Linked DNA regions of Homo sapiens: all the other regions are linked to region 1. The links are contacts of gene promoters, found by promoter capture Hi-C in blood cells and fetal thymus (Javierre and others, 2016). All regions are on one chromosome and are shown on one strand. The core of a region is centred on a gene start or on the middle of the fragment in contact, and the rest is flanking DNA. Distances in the headings are between cores, read along the strand shown.

The links. The method cuts DNA at HindIII sites, captures the fragments that hold promoters and counts their contacts. A CHiCAGO score of 5 or more calls a contact.
Region 2: a fragment that was not itself captured here is called in contact with the fragment with the promoter of PBX1-AS1 in region 1 in 2 of 17 cell types (endothelial precursors and total B cells); the score reaches 7.2 in endothelial precursors.
Region 3: a contact is called between a fragment that was not itself captured here and the fragment with the promoter of PBX1-AS1 in region 1, in 1 of 17 cell types (fetal thymus). The highest score is 6.3, in fetal thymus.
Region 4: a fragment that was not itself captured here is called in contact with the fragment with the promoter of PBX1-AS1 in region 1 in 1 of 17 cell types (endothelial precursors); the score reaches 5.4 in endothelial precursors.
Region 5: a fragment that was not itself captured here is called in contact with the fragment with the promoter of PBX1-AS1 in region 1 in 3 of 17 cell types (total B cells, naive B cells and endothelial precursors); the score reaches 8.6 in total B cells.
Region 6: a fragment that was not itself captured here is called in contact with the fragment with the promoter of PBX1-AS1 in region 1 in 3 of 17 cell types (naive B cells, total B cells and endothelial precursors); the score reaches 8.4 in naive B cells.
Region 7: a contact is called between a fragment that was not itself captured here and the fragment with the promoter of PBX1-AS1 in region 1, in 4 of 17 cell types (naive B cells, naive CD8 T cells, total B cells and 1 more). The highest score is 7.9, in naive B cells.

The regions. Positions count from the first base shown.
Region 1 is chr1:164,772,254-164,776,025 of GRCh38, reverse strand. It overlaps PBX1-AS1 (PBX1 antisense RNA 1), which reads left to right and starts at 1,385. Exons shown (of 4, transcript NR_038072.1): 1 at 1,385-1,597. The region is part of intron 2 of PBX1 (PBX homeobox 1); the gene reads right to left. The HindIII fragment of the contact is 2,806 bases long and covers 1-1,797 here.
Region 2 is chr1:163,559,372-163,562,661 of GRCh38, reverse strand. No RefSeq gene overlaps it. Among named protein-coding and RNA genes, the nearest start is that of NUF2, 240 kb to the right of the region's middle. The HindIII fragment of the contact is 6,081 bases long and covers 1-3,290 here.
Region 3 is chr1:163,509,451-163,512,833 of GRCh38, reverse strand. It overlaps the pseudogene RNA5SP63. Among named protein-coding and RNA genes, the nearest start is that of NUF2, 190 kb to the right of the region's middle. The HindIII fragment of the contact is 1,432 bases long and covers 1,058-2,489 here.
Region 4 is chr1:163,577,951-163,581,197 of GRCh38, reverse strand. No RefSeq gene overlaps it. Among named protein-coding and RNA genes, the nearest start is that of NUF2, 260 kb to the right of the region's middle. The HindIII fragment of the contact is 631 bases long and covers 1,309-1,939 here.
Region 5 is chr1:163,371,317-163,374,992 of GRCh38, reverse strand. No RefSeq gene overlaps it. Among named protein-coding and RNA genes, the nearest start is that of NUF2, 51 kb to the right of the region's middle. The HindIII fragment of the contact is 2,805 bases long and covers 1-2,659 here.
Region 6 is chr1:163,415,113-163,418,352 of GRCh38, reverse strand. No RefSeq gene overlaps it. Among named protein-coding and RNA genes, the nearest start is that of NUF2, 95 kb to the right of the region's middle. The HindIII fragment of the contact is 3,415 bases long and covers 1-3,128 here.
Region 7 is chr1:163,396,661-163,400,327 of GRCh38, reverse strand. No RefSeq gene overlaps it. Among named protein-coding and RNA genes, the nearest start is that of NUF2, 77 kb to the right of the region's middle. RefSeq lists an enhancer at 1-458. The HindIII fragment of the contact is 3,046 bases long and covers 284-3,329 here.

The DNA of each region.
Region 1 (3,772 bases), core at 136-2,635:
GAAAAGCTGACAAACCGATTATTAGTATACAGAGATGTGGAGGAAGTTTACTCAACAAATGGCCTCAATTGTGATATCATCACAATTAAGCCTTTTGACATTCATCCTTATTTCCTTACTCCAGTGTAGACTGCCACATATTCAAATATACAAACAGACCCCAATGTATGCCCATGCAGCAGGTGACAAGGGCCAGGTGCTTGTGTTTACCTGTACTTGTTTCAGCACTCACCCCATCCTTACACCATTAAACCGAATAGCCATTTGTAGGGCTTAAACACTTAAAAGCCAGTATTAAGCAGAACCTCAGCTCTGCATCTGGGGACAAAATACCCCGCAAAAGGGATGGGAATCCTGAGAGTGCAGCCAGCATAAATCACGCCAACATCACTGGGCAGACGGTTATAACAAAATGCACTTCCTCCTCCATGAAGAGCAAGGGCTTCGTAGACTGCACCCAAGCCACAAGCTCCACACCAGACCAGAGATGGGCTGGTAGGCAGAGGCAAAGGTGGTTTCAAGGCTTCTGTGGCTTTGAAGAAAACATCTTTGAGTGTGAGAAAGCATTCACATGGTCTCTGCGGGCATCCTTTCCCTGTGGTCGGGCACTCTTCAATCTGTGGCTGTTGATTTCACCACACACTCAACTTGTCCCGCCATAGTCCTCCCTAACGTAGCCCTAAAGACAAAAAGACCACTAAGATCGCCTTGCAAACCTAATCAGAATGTGGCAAGTCTGGGGCAGTGATCTTTCACTCTATGATCTTTGACAGTGGGTCCTAGGGGCAAAAGTCTCAGACTCTTAAAATCTTATCTGGCTCCTTCCGTTAACAGAGAAAAGTAAATATTTAGCCACCAGCACAGAGGTTGAGAGAAAAACAGCTGTAATCAACACTCCACTTCTCACCCCTCCCAGATCAGAGGTGAAGCCTGACACCCCTGACCCCTAAGCGAGCTTCCTCGGTGTAGCGAAGCACAGAGCCCAGCCAGCAATAATTCCACATATAAACAACTCTTGCTAGGCATGAAGCACACACCAGACAGTAATCAGCTTATCTAACAGAACAGGCCTCTTTTCCGAACGCAGAGGAGGATTAGCAGGCTTGAATTACAGCCGTGAAGTGTAATCAAGCCCTGGTGGACCCTGGCAAAGGCTACTGTATATTCCTGCTGGGCCATGGGTTGTTGGCACGATGTGGTGTACCTACAGGGGACGAACAGAAAATGCTTGAGATGGTAATTACACTGGGAGACAGCAGTTGAGAAATGGGGAAGAGCAAGTGTGGAGGGGAGAGAAATCAGATTCCAGCTGATGCCCACGTCCTCCACATCTTCCAGTCTTTGGAAAATCTTGAAGTTACTGGATTTGAACAGATTTTTCTGGCTTATTAAAAATAGAATATTGCCTACATCACATAAAGGGCAAACTCCGCCCTCACTTGGTCACAGAAGCAATTACAGCATTGTCTGTAGTACACAGCCCACGGCCTCTAACCACAGTGATGGGCACACTTGGTGATGTGCAACTCAGTGGGGCCTACAGGGTCCCAGCTGACATAGACATCACAAAGGAATTTGAACCAGGACTCAGAAATAGGTAGACAATTTTAAGAATTGTATCCTCACCTTGAAGATGCTAAAACCAACCAGATGGGGGTTTCCTTTTATACCTCCCAGATGGAGACTTCTCATTTCGAAAACTTGAGAGTCCAGCATTTAATGATATGCCTACAAAAAAGTCTCTACTTAGTGAATTCCATGAAAAAAGGCACTATGACTTTTGAATTTTTTGAAGCTTCCCAAAGAACCCTGTGCCTTGCTGAAAAAGAAAATTGTCTTATGTTAGGTTTATTTTTTTTTTATTCTGTCATTTATTTGTGAAGAACTTTCCTTAACATCCTATTCATAGCACCCCACTATGTAAAACAATTCAACAACTCATTAGCTTTCCCTTAAAGTAATCTTAGCCCCCTCTGAAGTTCCTCATCTATCTTGCCATCTATCCTTTTCTCTTACTCATATTTCTTAAAGATCAAAGAATTCAAAGTGGATATCACGTTAAAAAATTGCCTTCACTAACATGGGGAGTCGTAGAAAAATAGCTTCCTGGCTTTCTTAAGTTCTGGGCCTCTTGAGGCAGATCCACTGCGTTAACACTGCAAACACGCTTCCTTCTCTTCAGTCAAATCTCTCCCCAGCTAACTCTTCTAATACCAGCTTTCCAATGCCTTCCCAACACCCAATCCTTTCCAGTACACTTGGAGAGAGCAGAGACTCCAGGTGACATCATGAATCCCCTCTAGAGATGATCCATGGGTGAAGAGAGAGTCATGGCCCATGCAGTGTGGGGTACGGTTGAGGGCTCTGAAATGTGCCACAGGCCGCTCGTCCTACCAGTCCCAACCTATTCCTCACTAGCTTATCCCTTAAGACACATGTCCCCAAAACCACTCTCCACATTTAATCACAGCATAGAAGCCTGAAAGCAGTGATCTTTCACGCCATAGTCTTTGACAGGGAACTCTTAAGGCCAAAACTGCCAGACTCTCAAACAACTGATAAGTGCATAAACCTAATTTTCAAAACAATTTAATTGACTACAGTCTGATTGCTGGTACACATGAAGATATACCGTGTGTCAGCAGTGTTTGAAATAGGAATGCTGAGCTGAGTGTGAGTGGGTCACTCAATTCAGTCTATCAGGTTACGATCTGACAGTGGAAGGCAAGAGACAGCATATCAAGAAAAACTCTGTGTGTGTGTGTGTGTGTGTGTGTGTGTGCGCGTGTTACCTATATGCAAGAGCTGGAAAATAGAAAAGAGCTCTGATGAGTGACATGGAGCTGAAGATCCTTTGCGAGAACTTTAAATTCATTCCAAAATGCAACCAAAATAATTACAGTATTCAAAATTGTGCCACCAGTACAGAGGGCTGAGAACAACTGCTCTTAGTGGGACAAAGCCACAAAATGCAAGAAGGAACCAAAATCTACCAAGAATTACCTTGGAGATGAGTTAAGCTGATCTGGCCTTATGATAGTTCTGATAGCCAAGGAACAGGTCAGGGCTGGAGCCCAGAACTGGATATGGTCATATCTGAGAAATCAGACACTCAAGAGTAGGAGTCACCTCTCTGGGTCTGAGTCAGCAGGCACCTCCCGCCTCTGACAGGCCTAACCACTTATCATGAGCCAGGCATGCACTCAGGGTAGCCTAAATGCTAAGTACTGCCAGCAATGCTCAGACTCTTAGCCAGCCGTGGAGGTCTTCTCTGGGGCCACCCAACTATCCTTTCAGACCTCATTCTGATATCTCTGCCTGAAAAAGCACGCGGGGCAGCAATAGTCCCCAATCACTGTCCCTTTTAAGGTGTAAGGAGGACAGGGCAGGGGAGTGGGCTGTCCTAGTCCCTTTCAGGGGCTATACTCCAAGCCACAAGTCTGGTTTCTATTACAATTTTCCAAATTGATATGTGATCCTGGTGACAACAGTCACTCTCTGCACTGGAGTGTGTTAGCACCATCTGTAAAATGGGCCACTTGCCTTTCTTTTTCCAGACCAGTTGTGAGTTTTATAAACATACTCGTGGCAAAGCCCTCTCAAATTTATTTTCCTATGTGATATCTGATATGGCCCCATCAAACAAGCACACTTTTAGAGTGGCTTGTCAGAGTTGGTAAACGGTGTTGCACCTTTGGCTAGGATTTAAAATGCCTGAAAGGGGTTTAAACCACATGTTCTTTTAAAGATAGAGAAAATTTCACTGCTGTAC
Region 2 (3,290 bases), core at 581-3,080, 1.2 Mb after region 1:
CTCACTTGTAGACTAAGCAGCAGTCAAAAGAAATAGATCCAACACAGGCATGGGATGCATCCCATGCATGTGATGGTTGGTTTGAAACTCTTTGGGCTAAGAAAGAAAAGCATTGTGGGAGGAGAGCTGCTATCACCGGGTTCAAAGTGCTCATGGTCTTGAAAGCCCATTTCACCTAAAACTAAGGTTGGGGCAAAGTCTGTGGTCTCTGCCTGGCTTAGTGCCCCCATCTGGAAAATGAACAAATTAAGTGATCCCGTGACCCTTTCTGCTCCAATGTTCTATGAGTTTAAGACTTACTGATATTTATACTAAGACTTTCTAAATGTGTGCATACGTACGGTGGATGGAGGGAGGGCAGATTCCTGACTGAAGCTACTTCTCATGAATGAAGCATCAGCAATGTCAGGAACCAGATTACATTTGATCAACACAATTGCCTTTTCCCCTTTCCTGGGGATGCTGATCCTTTTGCCTTTGTTTCTGCTGGCTTCCCATCAGGACTCCCTCCTCCTTTTTGCGCTGAATATCAGTCAGCAGGACCCCCTGGATTATCTCATCTCTACCCTCCTACTATGCATTTTCTCTCCCGTGTGTTTATCCTATTTAGAGCTGTGCTTGTTGTGCTTGAAATTTGACCCTGTCTTTTGTTCAGCAAATCAGCAGTGCTTCCCCTGATCCATGTATCCACACTGGTGGTAAATTTGGACTATTGTCTTCCAGAGTCCTTTGGAGCTACTGAGTTTTGGAAATCCATTTATTCTGTATTTGCATATGTATGTTAGTGAACATTCAAGCATCTCATCTACATAAGCAAAAGAACATCTGTTTTCCTTTCTTAACTAGTATTGATCATAGATTTTTCAGGGACTTTATTGCTAGGCTCCTTGGTATCTAATCCCAACATGTATTACAGAGCCACCTCCTGGCCAAAAGAAAGAAAGAAAGTAGGGAAGTGCTGTTTGTGAGGATAGCCGAATAGGGGGACACTGGGGCCTGGGCAGCCCTAAATGTAAACCAGGAGTCCCTCAGACTTTAAGGCAGTAGGGGCCTCCTTGTTAGGGAAATTCTAGGCCTCCTGCTTTAGTAGCAGCAGATATCATAGTCACAAGCAAAAAAAGGCCTGTTTAGAATGGATGATTTGGTTCTTAGTGATGTAGGAGCTCAGGGAAGCATCACTGGCTCTATTCCCCAAGGTCACAGAGATTATATTATTTTTAACCCCAAATCCATGAACTGTCACCTGCTGTACTTCTATGATCAAAATACATTTTCCACTTATTTGTTCACACAACATAACACACCACTAGCATGCCTGGTGCAGAATTGTGAATTGGAGAGGCAATTATGCAATCATTGAAACTGGAGAGGAGAAATATGTAACTATTTTTTAAAGAATAGTTAACTATAGAGAGAGAGCACTAAACTGGGAGTCTGAACATATGCCTTCTAGGCTTGGCTCTGCTGCTCCAGAGATGAGTGAGTTGGCCTATGCTTGCTCCTCTGGGCCTTAGTTTTCTCACTCTCATGGATGAGTTATAAAATCTCTAAGACCTCCTCTATTTTTTAAATGGTGAGTCTGTGGGTAGTCAGTCCTCTTCCTCCATTTTTATGCTTTCTCCTGCTGCTCAATTCACTCAAAACAAACATACAAACACACAAACACACACACACACACAATCTCTCTCAACAGTGCTCAATGGTAACAAAATCTTCCTCTTCATCAAAACGCGGGCTGCATAGCCAAGGAGTTTCAATGAGGCCTTCATAGCCAAAGAGGTTCTGGCCTCAGTATCCTACATTCTTCTAGGTAGTAGTGAATGGAACAGATTTTCACTGAATCAATGAATTCCTGCTACAGAATAATTGTTAACTTCCCAGACCACATCAGGTCAACTCCTTCACTCTTTGAGAACATTTTTGACAACTTAGACTAAATTCTAGACGTTTTAGCAGAAATGGAGACTTACATGAAACATACATTTACAAAGGCTTCCAGAGACCTAGTTTGCAAAATACTAGGCCTAGAAGAGATCTCGTATCTCCTGTTTAATTTCTTAATTTTACAAGTGCTGGAACTGAGGTCCAGATGTGGCACACTCTTAGCCAGAGGCAGATTCAGAACTGAAGGTTGTGTCTTCTAACCGCTGAGCTTACACTTTGCTGTCTCGACTGCTTGCTATACACCTCTTCCGTTTTGAAGCCACTGACATGTCAGTCAGAGGGGTTCTCATGTCACTGGCATGAGCAGGAGACATGTGTCAGCCCTTGGGAAATCTTTCCTCCCCAGGAGAGCAAGGCAAGGGTGCAAGAGAAGAGAGACATGGGATCGGCCTAGAGAATCAGGTTTTCTTAGGAATAAAACTTTGAACTTCAAGGGCAGGAAAAGCATCCTTTTAATTTTTAAATTTCCCTTCCTTGGTCTCAGGCACAGCCCCTGATGCAGAGCAGATTCAATTAATACAAGCTGATGGAGTGAAGCAGGAATAGTGGTAAATTCTGTGTCCCTGAGGGACAAAGTATGTAGAACTGACTCTTAGCTTTCTCCAAAAGAGTAGTGTGGGCTAGAGCAGAGTTTCCTTGACTATCATATATTAAAGTTACTTAGACCTTCTTATGTCCTTATTTTCCAATTTACTCAGCATGGATTCCATACTGTGACACCATAGCCACTCCCTTTCCATTAACCTCAACTCCTTTGCCTTTTGCTGCGTCTATTGTAAGTACCTGGTTCATTGCACCAGCACCTAAGCAGCTGAATGTTGCTGGAGTGAAACACATAAATGCACGCGTGCACACACACACATACACACACACATGCACAAACACCCCCTTCCACATGCACAGAGGTGTGATTTCCTTTTAATTAGCATTATCAATTTGGGTACACAGAACTGTCAGGCAATTCTACTAGTAGCTAAATAAATTCACTTGTTTCTTTTCCAAAAAGATTATTTCACACCTCTTTTCTCCAACATGCTTTCTGTTTCAAACCCAATTTTTAACATGTGACTGCATCTTTCTTCCTAGGGAACATGGATAGAAACATGATTGCTACCTCATTCCCCATTAGCCAACCCATCAGCCTGCCTGATCTCATCCTCATAGGTTCTGCCTTCTTACCACAAAAAAGCGTCCCTGCTCACACCTTGGAGTCCATTCTTTCTCACTTACTCAAATACTTCTCCCACTCTGAAAATATCTCCTTTTGCTCTTGCACCATCAATTTCTTCCTATTAGATCATTACTATCAGGATATAAACCTTAACATCATGCAAAAATATCATCTT
Region 3 (3,383 bases), core at 524-3,023, 1.3 Mb after region 1:
AGGGCCTAAGGGCTCTTTAGTCAGCAGATGGTGAATCCTTCCAGGACTGGGTCTTTCCCTTCAGGGCAATGGGTGTGTCTAGAAATGTCATCCAGGAGCTAGGGCTTGAGATGGGGGCCTCAGGACTCTGCCTAATGCTATATTCTACTGGGGCTCAGCTGGTATCCAAGTTGCAAAATAAAGTCCTCTTTACTCTTTCCTCTCCTCAAGTGGAAGGAAGGAGTTCTCCCAGAGCTGTAAGCTGCAGTCCCTGGCGTTGGGGAAGAGGTAATGCGAGCCCTCCCTTGGCCTTCCCAGCTGGTGTCTCACTAGGTCACATGCTCCCAAAGTCCACTGGCTCCAAATGCAGCACAACACCAGGACTTGCCCAGCAACTGCAGTTTTTGTGGCTAGACTACCTTTCAAATTTATTTAGGATTCCAGAGCACTTTGGTCTGTGATGGAAAGACTTGCCAGAACTCACATTCTGACTGCTAAGATGGTTGATTCCACTCTGGATACAGCTGTCTGAATGCTCTCTCTGTGGGCACTGTCTAAGTTCTGGCCAGTGTTGCTTTCCACTGTGACAGGGCAGCATTGAGTTCCAATGCAAAGTCCCACAATACTGCACTCTCACTCCCCAAAGCACATAGATTATTTATCCATGCTACACAGCCACCACAGGTGGATGGGGTGGTGGGTGGCATTGGAAATTCAAGACTGTCTGTCCTACCCTCTTCAGTGCCTCTTTCAGTGATATAAAGTTAAAACCAGGTAGTGTGATCACTCACTTGATATTTGGTTCTCATGAAGTTGCTTTCTTGTATGGATGGTTGTTCAATTTGGTGTTCCTGCAGGGAGGACAATCAGCAGAGGCTTCTATTCAGCCATCCTGCTCTGCCTCAAGCTGGCTTCACAAATTTTTATAACTCCTCCTCAACACTGTTTTGTCACCTTTAAAGATTATCCATGGATACTGTCTTATACACAATAATCACTCAATAAATCATATTTACTGTTAGTATTATCATAGCTTTTATCATCATCATCACTAATATTACCAGGCACAACTGAAGCTTCCTTCATTAGTTCAACAAACACTTATTGATCATGTCCTATGTGGTCAAAGATGATTGAAATGTATGGTGCCTGAAATGAATGTACTTTATTACCCATCAACATAACTGCAAAACTATTCACAGAAACAAGAAATGTCCGGGCTATATCAGGTTGAAGATAAAAATGAAGACATAATTATAATAACAAAAGTACATTATTTGGCTTTGTATCTACCAATTATGAGAGTTAAGGACCTACTCAGTTATTCCCTAATTAAATCTTGGGGTTCCTGAGCAGTTTCTTAGGGCTCATAAAATATTTCCCTTAGCTAGCAAGAGACATATTGGCTATATTATTTTGCTTCTGTTTTCCCCTTTGTTGTCTCCTTTTGCAACTATCCTCAATAAACCCAGAAAGAAAAACTTTTTATCTCTCTTTGGATAGCTCTATACAACATGTTTCTTTAGGGGGTGGGGAGTTAGCAATGAATTTTTTAAATGCTGGCTCAATCCTTTAAGCCAGCTTGCCCTCTCTAGTTTGACAGACCCCACCATTACCAATTGTCTTATATCTGTCACTTCACATTTCACACATCTTTATGCTGCTTGCCAGGACCCTAAAAGATTTTTTTTCATTTTTTTACAAACACCCCTTCCCATGAATTCACTAATTTCAAAAGCTAGTGATATGCCCTGGGGGTATCAAAACTGCTGTCAGACCAAGGAGGCCACACAGTGTGATGCTTTCTCCTGCCTCTTCTCCATTCTGGCTATCCTGGGCACAGAGGAAATACTCCATCATAGAATTAGTGAGTAAATGTGCAGTTGGACACATTCATTCCATATTCCTGCATAATCAAACCATAGCTCCATGAGAAAGAAATCCTTGATGTTATGTCTTGTGATTTAGTATACAAAACAAGGCAGTCTTGTAATTTCCACATATCAGGGAAATCTTAGAGAAACAGCTTTTTATTTTTACTGTCTTTACTGCTGCTCCCTCTCCCAGGCAAGTTTTATGAGAGCTGGAGAAAATAATTGGGGAGCATCTCATTGTTCTCAGAAGAGTGTGTGTGCATGTGCATTGTTGTATTTTACCTCCTCCTTACTCCAGGTAGAAAGATACTGCATTCTCAGAGAACTCTATCAGTCAGAAACACAACGAATTCAATTGCCAGCAACAGAAAATCCCTCAGAAAGTGGTTTACAGAATAACAGATTTAGTTGCAGCATGTAACAAGTTCGAGTATTGGCATTGTAGAGTAAGACAATGATTCAGTGAGCTGGGCCCCTCTTATCTTCCTGCTCTGCCATCTGTACTGTGTGGTTTTGATTTTATGGTCTTAAGATGGCAGCTGTACTTCAAGCATCATGTCTGCAGGCCAGACAGAAAGGAGGAGAAAAGAGCACAAGGCAAAAGGGTGTGAATCAACTTTGTCCTTTTTAAAAGCTTTCTCAGAAACCTCAACCAGTAATTGCCACTCGTATCTCAGTGAACAGAATAGGGTCACATGTTAATATCTATTTTCAAGGAAGTCTGAGGATGAATCTTTTTTAACCAGGCTGAATACCCCACCAAATAAAATCAGTTTTTCATCATCAGGGAAGAAAGAGAGACTGGAAACTGAATAGGTAACTAGCACTGTCTGCCAAGAATAGTGTTTGAAGTAGTGAATAGGGTCATCAAAGACATTTGCATAAGAAAATTTTTAGGTATGATTTCTAAGAAGAACTTTTGTTTTAGGTTGCTGGCACAATACAAAAGCATAACAGGAAATTACAGGACATTTTCATAAGCAATGACTTCTAAGGTCAAAGGTGAAATGACAGATTTCAAACACAACTGCATTTTAAAGTGAGATTACGGACATTCTGTGTAGGTTTTGCATAGGGAGTAGCCATTAACTGGCCCTCTGTTCATAAACTGAGCACACACCTCCAGCCTGCATAAGGAGGGTAGAGGTGTTCCCCTCACCTCAAGTCAGGTGAAAGGGTCTAAATGAGAACGACCTGGAACACTTGACTTGTGTTCATTGGAGGTCAAGGGACACAGGGACCGGTATTTTATCCTGCCTTGGAAAAGACTCAAGATGGGAACTTATGCTTCGTCCTGCCCTGAGAGCAGAGCAAAGGAGGTGGCTGTACTCAGAGTGAGATGCACTTCCCCAAAAATCTAGGAATAAGGGTATGTTTTTCAGGAAGGTATGTTTTTCTATAAGAGCTCCTTCTATGCAAGTACTAACCAGGCCCAAACCTGCTTAGTTTCCAAGATCAGATGAGATTGGTCACGTTCATGGTGGTATGGCCACACACTAGGTATAAGACCTCATAGAAGAGGAACACTCT
Region 4 (3,247 bases), core at 375-2,874, 1.2 Mb after region 1:
ATGACGTTATCCTCATCAGTCAGGTCCAGAGGCCAGCAAGTCCTGCAGTTTGCTGAGTCAGACCTAGCACATTTAATAAAAGGGATTGAAAAATAATGCTTGATGTTGCTCTAGTTCAGATGAGTAAATTGTGAGGACACCCCATACATTAAGTGAAGCCATTCATTTCCATAATGTGATAGGATCATCTCCATTGATTCCACCCCGCTCTGAGGACAGAAACTTGCCTTGAGTACCTATGAAAGACTTACCAGGGACTCAGAGGAGTTGACATGAGGCAAAGCACTAAACTCTGTGCCCCAAACCCCAGTAGATTTTTCTGCTGACTTCTCTCTCTGAATTTCTTGATTTATGTGTTTACAACCCTCAGGTCAAGAAAGAATGCCAAGATTTTACTTTCTTTTGTGCAGTATATATTAATACTTAGGAGTACATGACTTCCATTTCTAAACTTCCTCATAGTTTGTTGCTCTTAGGTAGTGAGTTTGTGAGGTCTACACCCCAACATGACTGCCTCATATGTATAACTGAGTGAGCTGAAAACGTGTCATCTTTTTCAACATTTCTCAAAGTCGTTTTCATTCTACCACTATTCTCAGTCACTTAGACTGGAACCTCCATTTTGTCACCCAATCCTCTATTGTTGTTTGCATGTCACCTTTGTATACTCTATAGATACTGAGCTACTTCATATTTTATACTTTTGCCCTATTGGAATATTGTGAGAGCCTTCTAAGTCACACTAATTTAATCCAACAACATTCAAGACATCTTTATTGTTGAACATGATAAGCTCTGGATGTGAATGTGACACAACCCATGTCCTCAAATAACTTAAAATCTAATAGAAGAGAGCTGAGTTAGAAAGATCCTTGGAGGCTCAATTCAAATAAGGAACTGATTACTTAAATGATCCCTGATAGTGATTCTGAAAATAAAAATCAGGCTGGTTGTCTAGAGGAGTTAATATCCTTGTTGTAGAAAGCAGCACATGCCAAATTCAAAGAACAAGGCAAATAAGGAACTGAAGTAAACAGCATTGAATGAGATCAGTGTCTTTGAGGTTTGAAAGCAGAACTGGTAAGGTATTGGGGCAGATAGAAGTGCTCCACACAGTACTGATTCTGTGAACTGCAAGAATCTACAGCTAAACCAGGTTAGGCCTACGCACCAGCATAGGCCTGGTGCATAACTGCCTGGATCAGAAGCAGGGACAGGAAAAGTGACTTTAAAATATATTTATGGGCTGGGCAGTTTTAGCAGGTTGTATTCATTAACTCTTTGTATGGACAAACTTTTTACAAAGCTTAAAAATTGTAAATAGCCAGTGTTACCTTTAATACTTACTAAAGGGAAAATGTTAAATAAACAATAAACATAACAGTATCCTTTTCAATGAGACTATCACTTTATTATAGATTTGGTTATACTTGGTAAATTAGGCACTAAATAATATAATTTAGTTAAAGCATTTTTCTTCATGATTAAGTAAAAAGACTACAGCATAGGTGCTCTTGTTGTTCTCCCAACATGTGTCCTGTTATAAAGTCTTGCTGGGCAAAATAGGTTGACATGATACTCTAACAAGACTTCATGGATATGTTATGCACTGGTTTCTAAAGATTGTTTCACAATCTATAAAAACTGATGCTTGTATAAGCCATGCTGATAGGCAGAGCCTCCACATACAACACCACATCTCAGGAGGAATGATCCACATCCTAGACATCACAGAGCAGCATATTTACTATGACAGCTTTCTGGAAGATGTCAGTGATGCTTCCTATTCCAACAAAATCAGTACGCCATGGCAAAAGAAGGAGTGCCCATTTCTAATTCATCTAAAGGCCATATGGGTTAGTGGGCCTGCTGCATAGGCTACAGTGAATCACAGCAAAACTAAGGCCCCCTAGTACCTTCAACTGAGGGCAATAAAGCTTAGCTCTATTTTGCCTGTGACAGTTGACATTTCTTTCTTTCTTTTTGTTTTTTCTTTAGACAGAGTTTCGCTCTTGTTGCTCAGGCTGGAGTGCAATGGCACAATCTCTGCTCACTGCAACCTCCGCCTCCCGGGTTCAAGCGATTCTCCTGCCTCAGCCTCCCAAGTAGCTGGGATTACAGGCATGCGCCACCATGCCCGGCTAATTTTGTATTTTTAGTAGAGATGGGGTTTCTCCATGTTGGTCAGCTGGTCTCGAATGCGCCGACCACATGTGATCTTCCCGCCTCAACCTCCCAAAGTGCTGGGATTACAGGCATGAGCCACTGTGCCCGGCCTAGCTGACATTTCTTGATGCTGTCATGGGTGGTGGTATTTGTTATTCTTATTGTTAACTGACAGCATGGACTTTGTCCATAAGAAAACCCATTAGCCACAATTATGGGTAGCATCTAAGTTTTGTGTTTAATAAGAAGAGTTAACATTTATTAAGCACTTAATATGTGCCAAATACCATTCAAAACACTTCACAATTATTATCTGATTTTATCTTCACAATAACTCCATGAGGTCATATTATTATCCCCATTTTAAAAATGAGGAAGTTGAGACTTGGGTAATTAACTGATTGAAGGTTCATAGAACTAGGAAGTGTTCCATCAATGGTTGTGTATTAGCATATTCCGAAAAGCAGACCAATAATACGCATACAGAAAGGGCTTTTTAAATGAGGATTTGGCTCATGCAATTATGGAACTTGACAAATCCAATGATCTGCTATTTGCAAGCAGAAGCTGTAGAAATCCAGTGGTGCAATTAAGTCTGTGTCAAAAGGCCTAAGAACCAGAAAAGCCAATGGTATAAATCCCAGTCCAAGAGCAGAAGGAGACCAATGTTCCAGCTCACTTATCAGGCACAAGAAGTAGTGAATTCTTCCTTCCTCCACCTTTTGTTCTATTCAGGCCCTCAAAAAGTTGAATGATGTTCATCCATATTGGGGAGGCCAATCTGCTTTACTGAGCCCACCTATTAAAATGCTAATCTTAGCCCAGAGTTCATGCCTGTAATCCCAGCAATTTTGGTGGCCAAGTCTGGAGGATTACTTGAGCCCAGGAGTTTGAGCCAGTCTGGGCAACATGAGACCTTGTCTCTACAAATAATTTTTAAACAAAAACTGGCCAGGCATGATGGTACATTCCTGTGGTCCTAGCTTCTCAGGAGGCTGAGGTGGGAGGATAGCTTAAACCCAGGTGGTCAAGGCTGTAGTGAGCCTGGGTGACAGAATGAGGCCCTGTCACAAGTAAAATA
Region 5 (3,676 bases), core at 8-2,507, 1.4 Mb after region 1:
TAGCTGAAATCAAAACTCCCAGAAAACTAGGGAGCAAAAGTAAAAGGTTGGCCATCTATTTTCTCAGCAGCATCAACTATCCCCCCTTCCCCTTTTGAAGCATAGAGAATCTGAGCAACTGCCTTGCTATGGAAGATTTTTAGAGCAAGATTAATCAGCACCTGCTGATTAAATTTTGGGCTATAAAATTGCAATATAGCTGTCACAGTTCTAGTGACTGTAGTCTGTGTTATGTGTTTTCCAATGAAGTGCTTAATTAAAATGAATGCCTAGATATTTAAATTCCTAGAACCAATCAATCAGCTGGTTGTTTATGACTTATCAAAGGGCCCCTTTTGTCCCTAGTGTGTTGTGGTGTATAATGTAGTTTGGCTTCTAAACCAGAAGTTAACCTATACTCCTGAGAATTGAGTTCACAACCTCATAAGCACCTAACTTTATCAAAGGAGATAAATGCAGCAAAACACTCTAACTGCTATGCTAATGGAGACATGAACAACAAAAGATAATGTGTGGAAATCCAATCACTGGCTTCAAAATGCCTTCTCTCTCAGTAGATTGTCAACTCTTTTCTATTTTTAAGAAGTCTCAGGTCGGGTGTGGTAGCTCATGCCTGTAATCCTAGCACTTTGGAAGGCCAAGGCAGGAGAATCACTTGAGCACAGGAGATTGAGGTTGAGCCTGCAGTGAGCTGTGATTGTGCCACTGCACTCCCACTTGGGTGAAAGAGCAAGGTTATAGATGAAAGATAAGGAAAGAAAGAAAGAAAAAAGAAAGAAAGAAAGAAAGAAAGAGAGAAAGAAAGAAAGAAAGAAAGAAAGAAAGAAAGAAAGAAAGAGAGAGAGAGAGAGAGAGAGAAAGAAAGAAAGAAAGAAAGAAAGAAAGAAAGAAAGAAAGAAAGAAAGAAAGAAAGAAAGAAAGAAAGAAAGAAAGGAAAGAAAGAAGAAAGGAAGGAAGGAAGGAAGAGAAAAGGAAGTCTCAGTAATTAAACATTTATGTTGCATGAAAAAGCAATTGACACCAGTGAAATTTTTTTTTTTACTTCCTTCTGCAACTTTTTTTTGGCTTTTTATCATGATGGGCAGAGAACTGAGAGAAATGGAATTTTTCTTTTAATGATAAATTAATTTTAATTGTCATTGCTAGATTTAGCAAATAAAAAATACAGGATTCCCAGTTAAATTTGAATTTCAGATAAATGATGAATAACTTTTTAGTATAAGCACGCCCTAAACTTATATTTGTTTATTTGCTGTATTTTATTTGCCAACCCTAATTTTAAGGCTTTGCTAAGATCACAAAGTCCTTCTTTACAGAGACACTATAGGACTACTAATACCCATGGGAGAACACAGACGTGAGGTAAGCCATCAGACCATGCTCAGTTATAGCAGAACAAAGGCAGAACTCCTGCTGTCTTGAGCCCCTTGTAGGTTCTCTTCCATGAGGACACCCCTGTATACTTTGGTTGGGCAAGTCATTTGATGAATTTCACAATCTTCCAAATGAGTCCATGGAATTTTAGGTAGCATACCCAGAGAGAAATAAACTTCTTTAGACCAAACTACAAATTAACTAATTTGAGAGCCAACATTTTGACTGCTGGCAGCTATCCAGTCCAAATGTACAATTGAGCATGGTGGTTCACACCTGTGATCCCCACACTTTGGGAGGCCAAAGTAGGAGTTTAAAAAAATCAGGACTTCATAAAAACACAAAAATATGAACTGCCAATGAAAATGTTCACTTTAAGGAATATAACTAACTTAGGAAGAACCCCCTATACATCAACTAGAGCAACGATAAAATAGAATTTGTACACTAATCTTCAATTCCTTCCTCATTAAAAAATTAGAAAAAAACATTTTTTTAGATTGGTTAAGACAAGAGAAAAATAATCTTGGTTGTAGAAACAGCCAGAGTTTTCTTCTTCCGTCTAGTCCTAATTTTGGAGATTCTGCCACATATTACATTCTGTTCTTGTCCCATACTTATCTCTCCGAGATGATGTTTCCATGTTTCAAGGTCTTTATTACTATGTAAAGATTTTTCTTAGTATCTATTTGCAACTGCTCCTTGTTTTTTTCTCAGCTTTAAGTCCTGAGTGTTTTCCAAGTATACTGCTAAGGAGGTTTGCTCCTTCCAATACACTCTGCCAAATGTGTGCTAATTACTTACCACATTAGGAATAGCTTATCTATTTGTCTGCTTGGTGCTACAGCTCAGCTTTCTAATCCTCACTGCCTGTGCAATCAGCATTCTTCCCCACTGGATCTATACGCCAGGGTGAGAGGAGGGTGTTTCTCACCTTTTGGGGAGGAAGTATTTATTAGAGTCTGATTTGAAAATAAATTCCCCACAGAACAGAAACACTGTTTCTGAAACACATTTCATCCATTCATTCCTCCACAAATTATTATTAGCACCTGTTATGCGCCAAGCACGATACTAGGCCCTGAGAACATAACTGTGAACAACTAAAAAATGTGGAAGTCTAGTGTGGAAGTGAGCTATGTATACAATAATTCCAACAGTGTCAAATGCTCTTGATAGAAAATGATCAAGATGACATGTGAGAATGCCACAGAGGGACTCAACTGAGGTTAGGAAAGACTTTTTGGAAGAAATGATAATTACGCTGAATAGTATTTAGCAAGCTTAAAAGAATAGTGTGGAAAAGGGATGTATGAAACAGCATGTGCAAAGGTCCTTAAAGAGAGACGTAGAGGATGACATAATTGTGGAAATGACAAGAATATAAAGGAGCCTTCAGTAGATCCACAAATATCTATGGAGTGCCTACTACATGCCAAGCATTGTTCTACAATCTGGAGGTACAGCTTTGAGTATTATATACATTGAGGAGGAGCTTAAATCCTAGTGGAGGAAGACAGACAACAAATAGGGAAGTATTAATAAGATACCCAAAGTATTGACAAGTTCATTTTTAAAATATAAGGTAATGAGATAGAAACTGAGTGGTTTTGAGGTAGGGCTGCTTTAGCTAGCCTTTAGCCAAGGTAGTAAGGGAACATGTCTTTGAGGAGGTAACATTGTGGTGAGGGCTCCATGTTGAGAAGCAGCAGCCAAATTAAGGTTTGGAACGGCAAGAATGTCATGAGACAAAGAAGTTTTCAAGAGCTTTGAAAGCCATGTTAAGAGTTTTGGCTTTATCCTAAAGGCAATGGGAAAACAGTAGAGACTTTTCAGCAATGGAGTAATAGTTTATTAAAATAGTGATTATTTTGGTTTTGTTGTAGAATGTGGATTGGAGAGGAACAAAACAGTATCTGGTGGGTGAGTCTGAGGAATGGAGAAAAAGAACTGGGCCAAACAATTATAGAAGAGAGTTGACAGGTGTGTTGATTGAATTGTTGTGGAGGTTAAGGGAGAGAGGGATGAGCGAAGGCTTTTTTTCTTTTCTATCACGTGCAATGGGTGGGCTGGTGGTAATATTTGCTTTGAAGAGGAGATGAAAATGATGAGTTCTATTTAGGAAGAATTGAGTTTGAGATGCCTATAGTACACCCAACTGGGGTACCCAGAAGGCAGTCAGATACATGGGTCTGGGGCTCTAAAGAAAAGTCTGGGTTGGATAGATGGACTTGAGAGTTATCAGAAGAGCAGATAATTAAAGCCAAGGGAGAGTGTGAATTATGAAAATAGAGCCTTGAAT
Region 6 (3,240 bases), core at 172-2,671, 1.4 Mb after region 1:
ACATTTTATCATTATTATTACAATGACAATTAATATCTACAAGTGGCCAGGTACTTGGAGGTGGTCTAGTCCATGTTTCACATTGATAGTGTCATTAGCTTCCCTGCTCCATCTTCCCTGTCTTCCCTCCCTTACACAATCTGCAATAGGGAATGTATGATCCACATCTCACATATCCTGAACCTAGAAGCCCACCAATAGGGCTTTATACAGCTGCCTCTGGGAACTTTCTTACGTGAAACCGTTTTTTTCTTGGGATGTCCTACCTGAGGTACTAATATTATGTTTTTCTGTCAAGACAGGTAGTTAGCTCTTATTAACTCTGCTTTCAGTCTTGGGCTTTCATGATTGAAACACAGTCAAACCGAGAGTGAGTCCTTAGTTCATCAAGCTGTCAACAGTGACTCCACAAGAGTTGGGAACAGAAAATATTATGCCAATAATGGTATGTAAAAAGAAGGACTCTCTTTTATTGGTAACATCTGGCACAGTTTGTTAGAGCAGTCTAACCATGTGGCCAGGCAAGCACTTACTCTGATAAATGAGAATCAACATGGATGTTCGTATACACAGGGGCTCACTACTCCCCACAAAAATTACTCCAGCCTTTCATCCAGTAGCTTCCTTTATAATTTTGTCTTTTTTCTATAATTTCAACCACATGTCCTTCCAGGTTTGGAGCTGCTTACCTCCCTACAAAACCTACATTTTGGCAGAAACCCCAAGGCCTTGGAAGGCAAGACATTTCAGGACACTGCTTCATGACTGCTCCCATTTTCTTGTCTCGCTCTCCACCCACACACCTTGGGCCAGCCTTCCCCCATGACTTCTTCACAGGGATCAGCCTACACGAAGACAGAAGCAGATCAGGGTCTGTATTTTCTTTGCTCCTCACACCATTAACCAGAGTCCCAAGAAAGATACCCCATAAGCACTCAAGACTGGTTAGTACAATGTATAAATGAACAACATTTGCTTTAATGTCTCAATGTATTGATCATCTTCTCTTCCGAAAATGAATTGTTCCCCACTAGTTCCCAAATCCCACACACTGGCAGAATCATATTATTCTGATGTGGAAGATGGGTCCCTAGTGTTTAGGCATGTTATTTAGAGTAGAGCAAACCTGTGAGAAGTGAGATACCAAGTCTTGAAAAAGAATTCTTTCTGTTACTTTAGAACCATGCATGATGATTCTTTTTGTGGAATTTTACTTAATTCTCCTCTCTCTCTCTCTCCCAGCCCATTGTCAACTTTTTTTTTTTTTTTTTTTTTTTTGATACGGAGTCTCGCTCTGTCGCCCAGGCTGGAGTGCAGTGGTGCGATCTTGGCTCACGGCAAACTCCGCCTCCCGGGTTGACGCCATTCTCCTGCCTCAGCTTCCCAAGTAGCTGGGACTACAGGCGCCCGCCACCATGCCCGGCTAATCTTTTGTATTTTTAGTAGGGACGGGGTTTTACCGTGTTAGCCAGGATGGTCTCCATCTCCTGACTTCATGATCCGCCTGCCTCAGCTTCCCAAAGTGCTGGGATTACAGGCGTGAGCCACCGCGCCCGGCCCCATTGTCAACTTTTTAATAAGCCTCTCCCTTCATGACCACTGTCTCCCACATCCCTAAAGAAAAAGGTATGAGACTTAAAAATTGTAGAAATTGATTAGTATTGTTGCTTTGTTTATTAAACACCAACGAATATTTCTTCAGCACCATCTTTATGGCAGGCACTGTATGTAGGCACTAAGGACGAGACAGTGAGGAAAAAAAGACAATTTCACTTTTAAAAGATTTAGATTCTAGCAATGGGTAAACAGGCAATAAACAGTTAATATGTAAAATACATAGGATGTCAGGTGATAATATATGGTAGCAGGGAAAATAAAATCAGAGAAAGAGGCAGAGGAAGTACTATTTTAAACAGAGTGTTTAGGAACAGTGTCCTTGATAAGATGACATTTGCAACGAGACCTGACAGAAGTGAATGAGTGAGCTGCGTGGAAACCCAGAGAAAGTTCATTCCAGGCAGAGGGAACAGCAGGTACAAAGGCCTTGCAGCAGGACTATTCTGGTCCCCTGGAGAAACCATAAGAGGGTTAATGTGGCTGGCCGCTTGATAGGTTATTATAAGAACATTGGCTTTTATTCTGAGATGAAAAACCACTGACAGAAGAATTATAAGATCTGATTTGTGCTTTTAAAAGGATACTTCTGGTGGCTAGCCAGAGAACAGAGTATAGCGGGGGTCAAGGGTAAAAGCAACGAGGCCATAAATTAGGGTGTCCTTAAACCAGGAGGATCAACATAAAGGTGAGGAGCAAAGGCTAGAGTCTGTGTAAACTTAGAAGGTAGAGCTGGTAAGATTGGATGGTGAATTTGTTATGAGATATTTATTAAAATTCAACAATGGCACTAAAGTTTTTACTCTTAGAAAACATAAGAATGAAATTACTGGTTATTAAAATGGGAAAAACAAGGGAAAATAAACAAGTGTGAAGGAATGATCATGATCAACAGTGAGGTTTGAGACATGTTAAGTTTGAAATGCCTAAAGACATCTCAAAACATCCAAGATTAAACGATGACTAGGCAGCTGGACTCAGGGGAGAAGTCAAGATCAGAATGATGTATTTGGTAATCCTTAGCATAGATGATGTTTAAAGTCATGAGGCTGGAGGCACCACACAGCAAGTGATAAGAGATAGAGAAGAAAAGAAGTCTGAGCATTATGCCACAGAGTCATACTAGAGTTTAAGGATCTATGAGGGAGAATCGGCAAAGGGTACAAAAGAAGGAATTGTCAATGAATTAGGAAGTAAACCAGTAAATTAGGAGTATGGCACTGCAGAAGCCAAGTAAAGTAATGAGACTGATCATCTGTGCCAAATGCTGCTGGTGGAGAAAGAGAGATGAGGGCTAGGAATGGACCACTGAACTTCACAACAGGGAGGTCATGGGTGAGCTTAGCAACAGCACTTTGGTAAAGAAGTGGAGGCAAATGCCTGATTGGAGCTGGTGTAAAAGAAGTACAATGTATCGATAATGGGGGTAGAGAGAAACATTTCAGCAAGTTTTGTGGTCATGGGCAACAGAGATATGAGACAGTAACTGGAGAGAAATAGTGGCTCAGGAAGCTTTCTTTTTTTCTCCTTTTTTAAAAAACATGGGGAAAATTATAGCATGCTTGTATGTGAACGGTAATTGTCTAGTAAAAAAGGGGAAATTTGATGCTGTAGAAGAGAAAAGGG
Region 7 (3,667 bases), core at 557-3,056, 1.4 Mb after region 1:
TCCTCCTACCCATCGCCAGGAACGTGCCCTATAAGGAAACAAATGCAAACTCCAGGGAAGAGCTCCAGGGCCTAGGCTTTGTGAGAAGCCCACCAGGGAGTACCTGACTGCAGGCTGGAGCATATGAAAAGCTCCTTTCTCTGCACTTGGCTCATAAAAGAAGCCCCATGGCTTGAATCCACCAACTCCCTGCGATCTCCGACAGCAGAGCTGCTCCGAGACCTGCAGACAGGCAGGGGGACAAACGACGGGGGAAATGCTGCCAATACTGGGAACAAAAGCTTGCTCACATTGCTGGAGTTACACGGGATGTAGCCTAGGAGTTTTGCTTTCATGGACGAGAAAAAAAAAGAATATTTAGAGTCTGGGATGGAGAGGACAGAACAGAATTATTATTCTTTGTAAGGAAAACCAGGGAAAACTAGAGGACATAACCAAAACAGAAGCGTTTTTATAGAGCCAACAAATTTCATTTAACAAAATGGTTGAAATTATGTGTTCTTTCTTCAATCTTCATGTCCCCTTCTTTAAAATTAGATCCCCAGTGAAATTCTCAGAGAAAAACCATGGGAGCTTCTTTTACTCTCTCTTGTTTCTTTTGCTTTATTTCTTCTTTTCTCTCTTCTGCTCTGTCTGGAATGGGCTGAGGAATGGCAGTGCCTGTTGACAAAGAGATTGATAAGGATGAGACTTGAAAATCATTCTCAAAATGTTACTAGTAGCCCAAATTGAATTTAGAGAAGTGGCCTTAACTACTAATAACTAATAATAAATAGCAGTTTTTAACCACTTACAATGTGCCAGAAACTATTCATAGCACTTTACCCACACTAACTCAATTGTACAATCTACTCCTAGGATGGTATGGTATCCTAGGTGGGTACCATAATAATCAATGACGTTTTAAACATGAGGAAATTGTAAAACAAGAAGGTCAAGTAACTGTCTCTGGGTCTCTCAGAGAGTAAGCCATGAAGTCAGGATTGAAAGCCAGTAAACCTGGCTTCAGAAACTGCTTGAACACCTCACTATGCGGCCTCTGAGAAGGACCATCAGGCATTGGCCCAGTCGCCATGGTGACTCCCTTCCATGCGTCCCTCTCCAATCACTGGGTAGACTGTCTGCCTTCCTCTGGCTTTGGTTTTGTCTCTGGACACCACCTCTTAATCATTCCCCTCTGTTTCATTCGTTGAAGTCAGCTCGCAGGCAAATGTCACTGAGGCTCCAGGGACATCCCATCCAACAGCCCCAGTCTGGTGTCCAAGTCCCTGTGCTCTGGGAGGGGAAATGGAAACCTTCAAGCCCCTCTCTGTGCTCCTTCAACCACCTAATTTTGCCTCTCATTTAACCCACTCTACCCTCTTCTCTTCCTGATAATTTTAATACCTGTTTTCTACACTGTGTTTAGGTACTTGTCCATATTCATTCCACTGCCTTAAATCTGCCTTATTACTCTCAAATCTTGGGTCAGTGTCTACAGCACTTTAATCTCCTCAAAAGTGGAGACTGTGCACATTCTGCATTTGTTTTTCCCCCACAGCATAGCAGAGATGTTGAGTGAATAAATAAATGAGCAAATAAGACTACCATTGTCTTTCTTTACCTCTTATTCTTCTGATCCCAGAAAGTGAATAATAATAATAATCTCATAGTTTAAACTTCAGGCAGCTAAGTAATGCTGGAATGAGTTGTGGTGTGTGTATTATGAGGACATCAGGAATCTGAGATGATCACCCAAGTAACTGAGGCCCAGGGTTGACTCCAGTCCTTATTTTCTGCTGAGACATCTCTCTTCATTACCTTTTTGTCTAGGAACTCTGACCTCAATGACCCAATTGGAGTAGATTTCTGCTTAAGGTTTTCAGAAGTAAATGTGTCATCCTTGGTGGGGAGGGAATCAAGAGGGGAAGAGGAGGGTACTTGAAACAGAACTTTGAGACCAGTACAACTGTTTAGAGGCTCATGAAATCCAAAGAAAATGGAAAGAAAGAAGCATATCATCTGAATTAAATTCCTGAAAGCCTCACGGGTTGTTTTTCTCTTGGTTTTCAGCACACAAGCTGGAAATCAGAGGATGCTTCAATGTGCCCGCCAGCTCAGGCACTCTGTTCTAACTGGGAGAATAAGAAGATAAACCTATTCATCTCCCTCTGCCTTCCAATCCGTCCCTTACTTGATCTGCATTCAGCCTTTGTGTTATTCAGCATCCCCCCAGCAAGTTGTGGTTAAAAGAGCATAGGTCCTGAGGTTAAACAGTCTTCAATCCAAAGCCCTTTCCCACAATTTGTTTATTATGGGATCTTGGACATATTATTTAATTTTTCTGGTCTGTCATAAGATGAAATGAGGCATCATAGACAAGTAGTTAGTAAAGCTCTGGCTCATGTAGTACTGAGTAATGTTGGCCAGATTCCCCACTTTTCTTCCAACCCCTCCAATTTTCTTCTTTTTTCTTTCCTTCTTCAGACCTTTTGTTTGTACGTCTTTACAATCTCCCCTTAACGGCTTACAACTATTTTTTTCTAAATTCTTCAGTTTAATTCCAGCTCCAAGTTGAAAGAAAAAGGAAACAGAAAAGTCATAAAGGTATTCAGCTTCAAAATTATAAATGGAAAAGCACTGCAAATCAGCCATGGCCTGAAAGGAAATAAAATGTTATTGAGATTCTGTGAGTCTGGAGGCACCATCTGGGAGTATAACTTGTGAAGAAACAAATCAAATCAGTGTTTTCTTCATTCAGAAGATACTTTTGCCTCGGGGATCATAGCAGCCTTAAGCAATTTTGGGGGGTGGACTCTGAAGCAGTGTGTATTGGAGAGGAGAGGGAACAAAACCTACTGTGCTGGATCCCCTAATTAGACATGTGACTCCCACCAAATCAATTTGTCTCCCTCAGCCTTTGTTGCTTTGGCCAACCATCAAGCTCATGCAAGACTCCTATGAAAGAGCACAGCTAATTTCATAGCACCTGCTCTCCTGAATCTTATCACCATGAATATTCTACAGGAAGGACTCCTGAGAATATACGCTATCAGGAAACTACCTTTTTACTTTTGCTGCACTCTAGTAACAGGAAAAATAATAACAAGAAGACAAGATGTTAGGTAAGCAAGCTAATATAAGATGTCCTTCGGGTTATAGTCTAAACTCAGGAACTACTCAGTTCAGTTTCCTATAACATCTCTGTTCCCAGTATGAGGAATGAGATATGCACAGATAGCATATAAGGTAGATAAAGACTTATGCTCGAAGAAGGATACGTAACAAGGGAGGTTCCAAAGAAGAACAGCTCAGTCACTTCTAGGAGAGAAGTACCAGCAGGGAAAGCTTTATGGAGAAGGTAGTTTTTGAGTTAGAGCTTAAAGCATGACCAGGATTTGTTAGGTGAAAATGGAAGGTAGAACAATCCAGTTGTGAGTACCACAAAAGCCAAGCATGGATGGGAAAGTATAGGATATATTTTTAAAGGAGTGAAGAATTCAACTGGGAAGGAGATAGAGAATATATACAAAAATGATGAATGGAGGAATGGAAAAGGCCAGAGGAGGTGGGCAGGGAGGATGTTGCATTTCAGATTAAGAAATTTCAACAATGGAAAGCCATAGAACTACTGATGTGCAGAAAACAACCTAGTATTCGCCTTCACATGGAGACTGGTCTTCAGGGA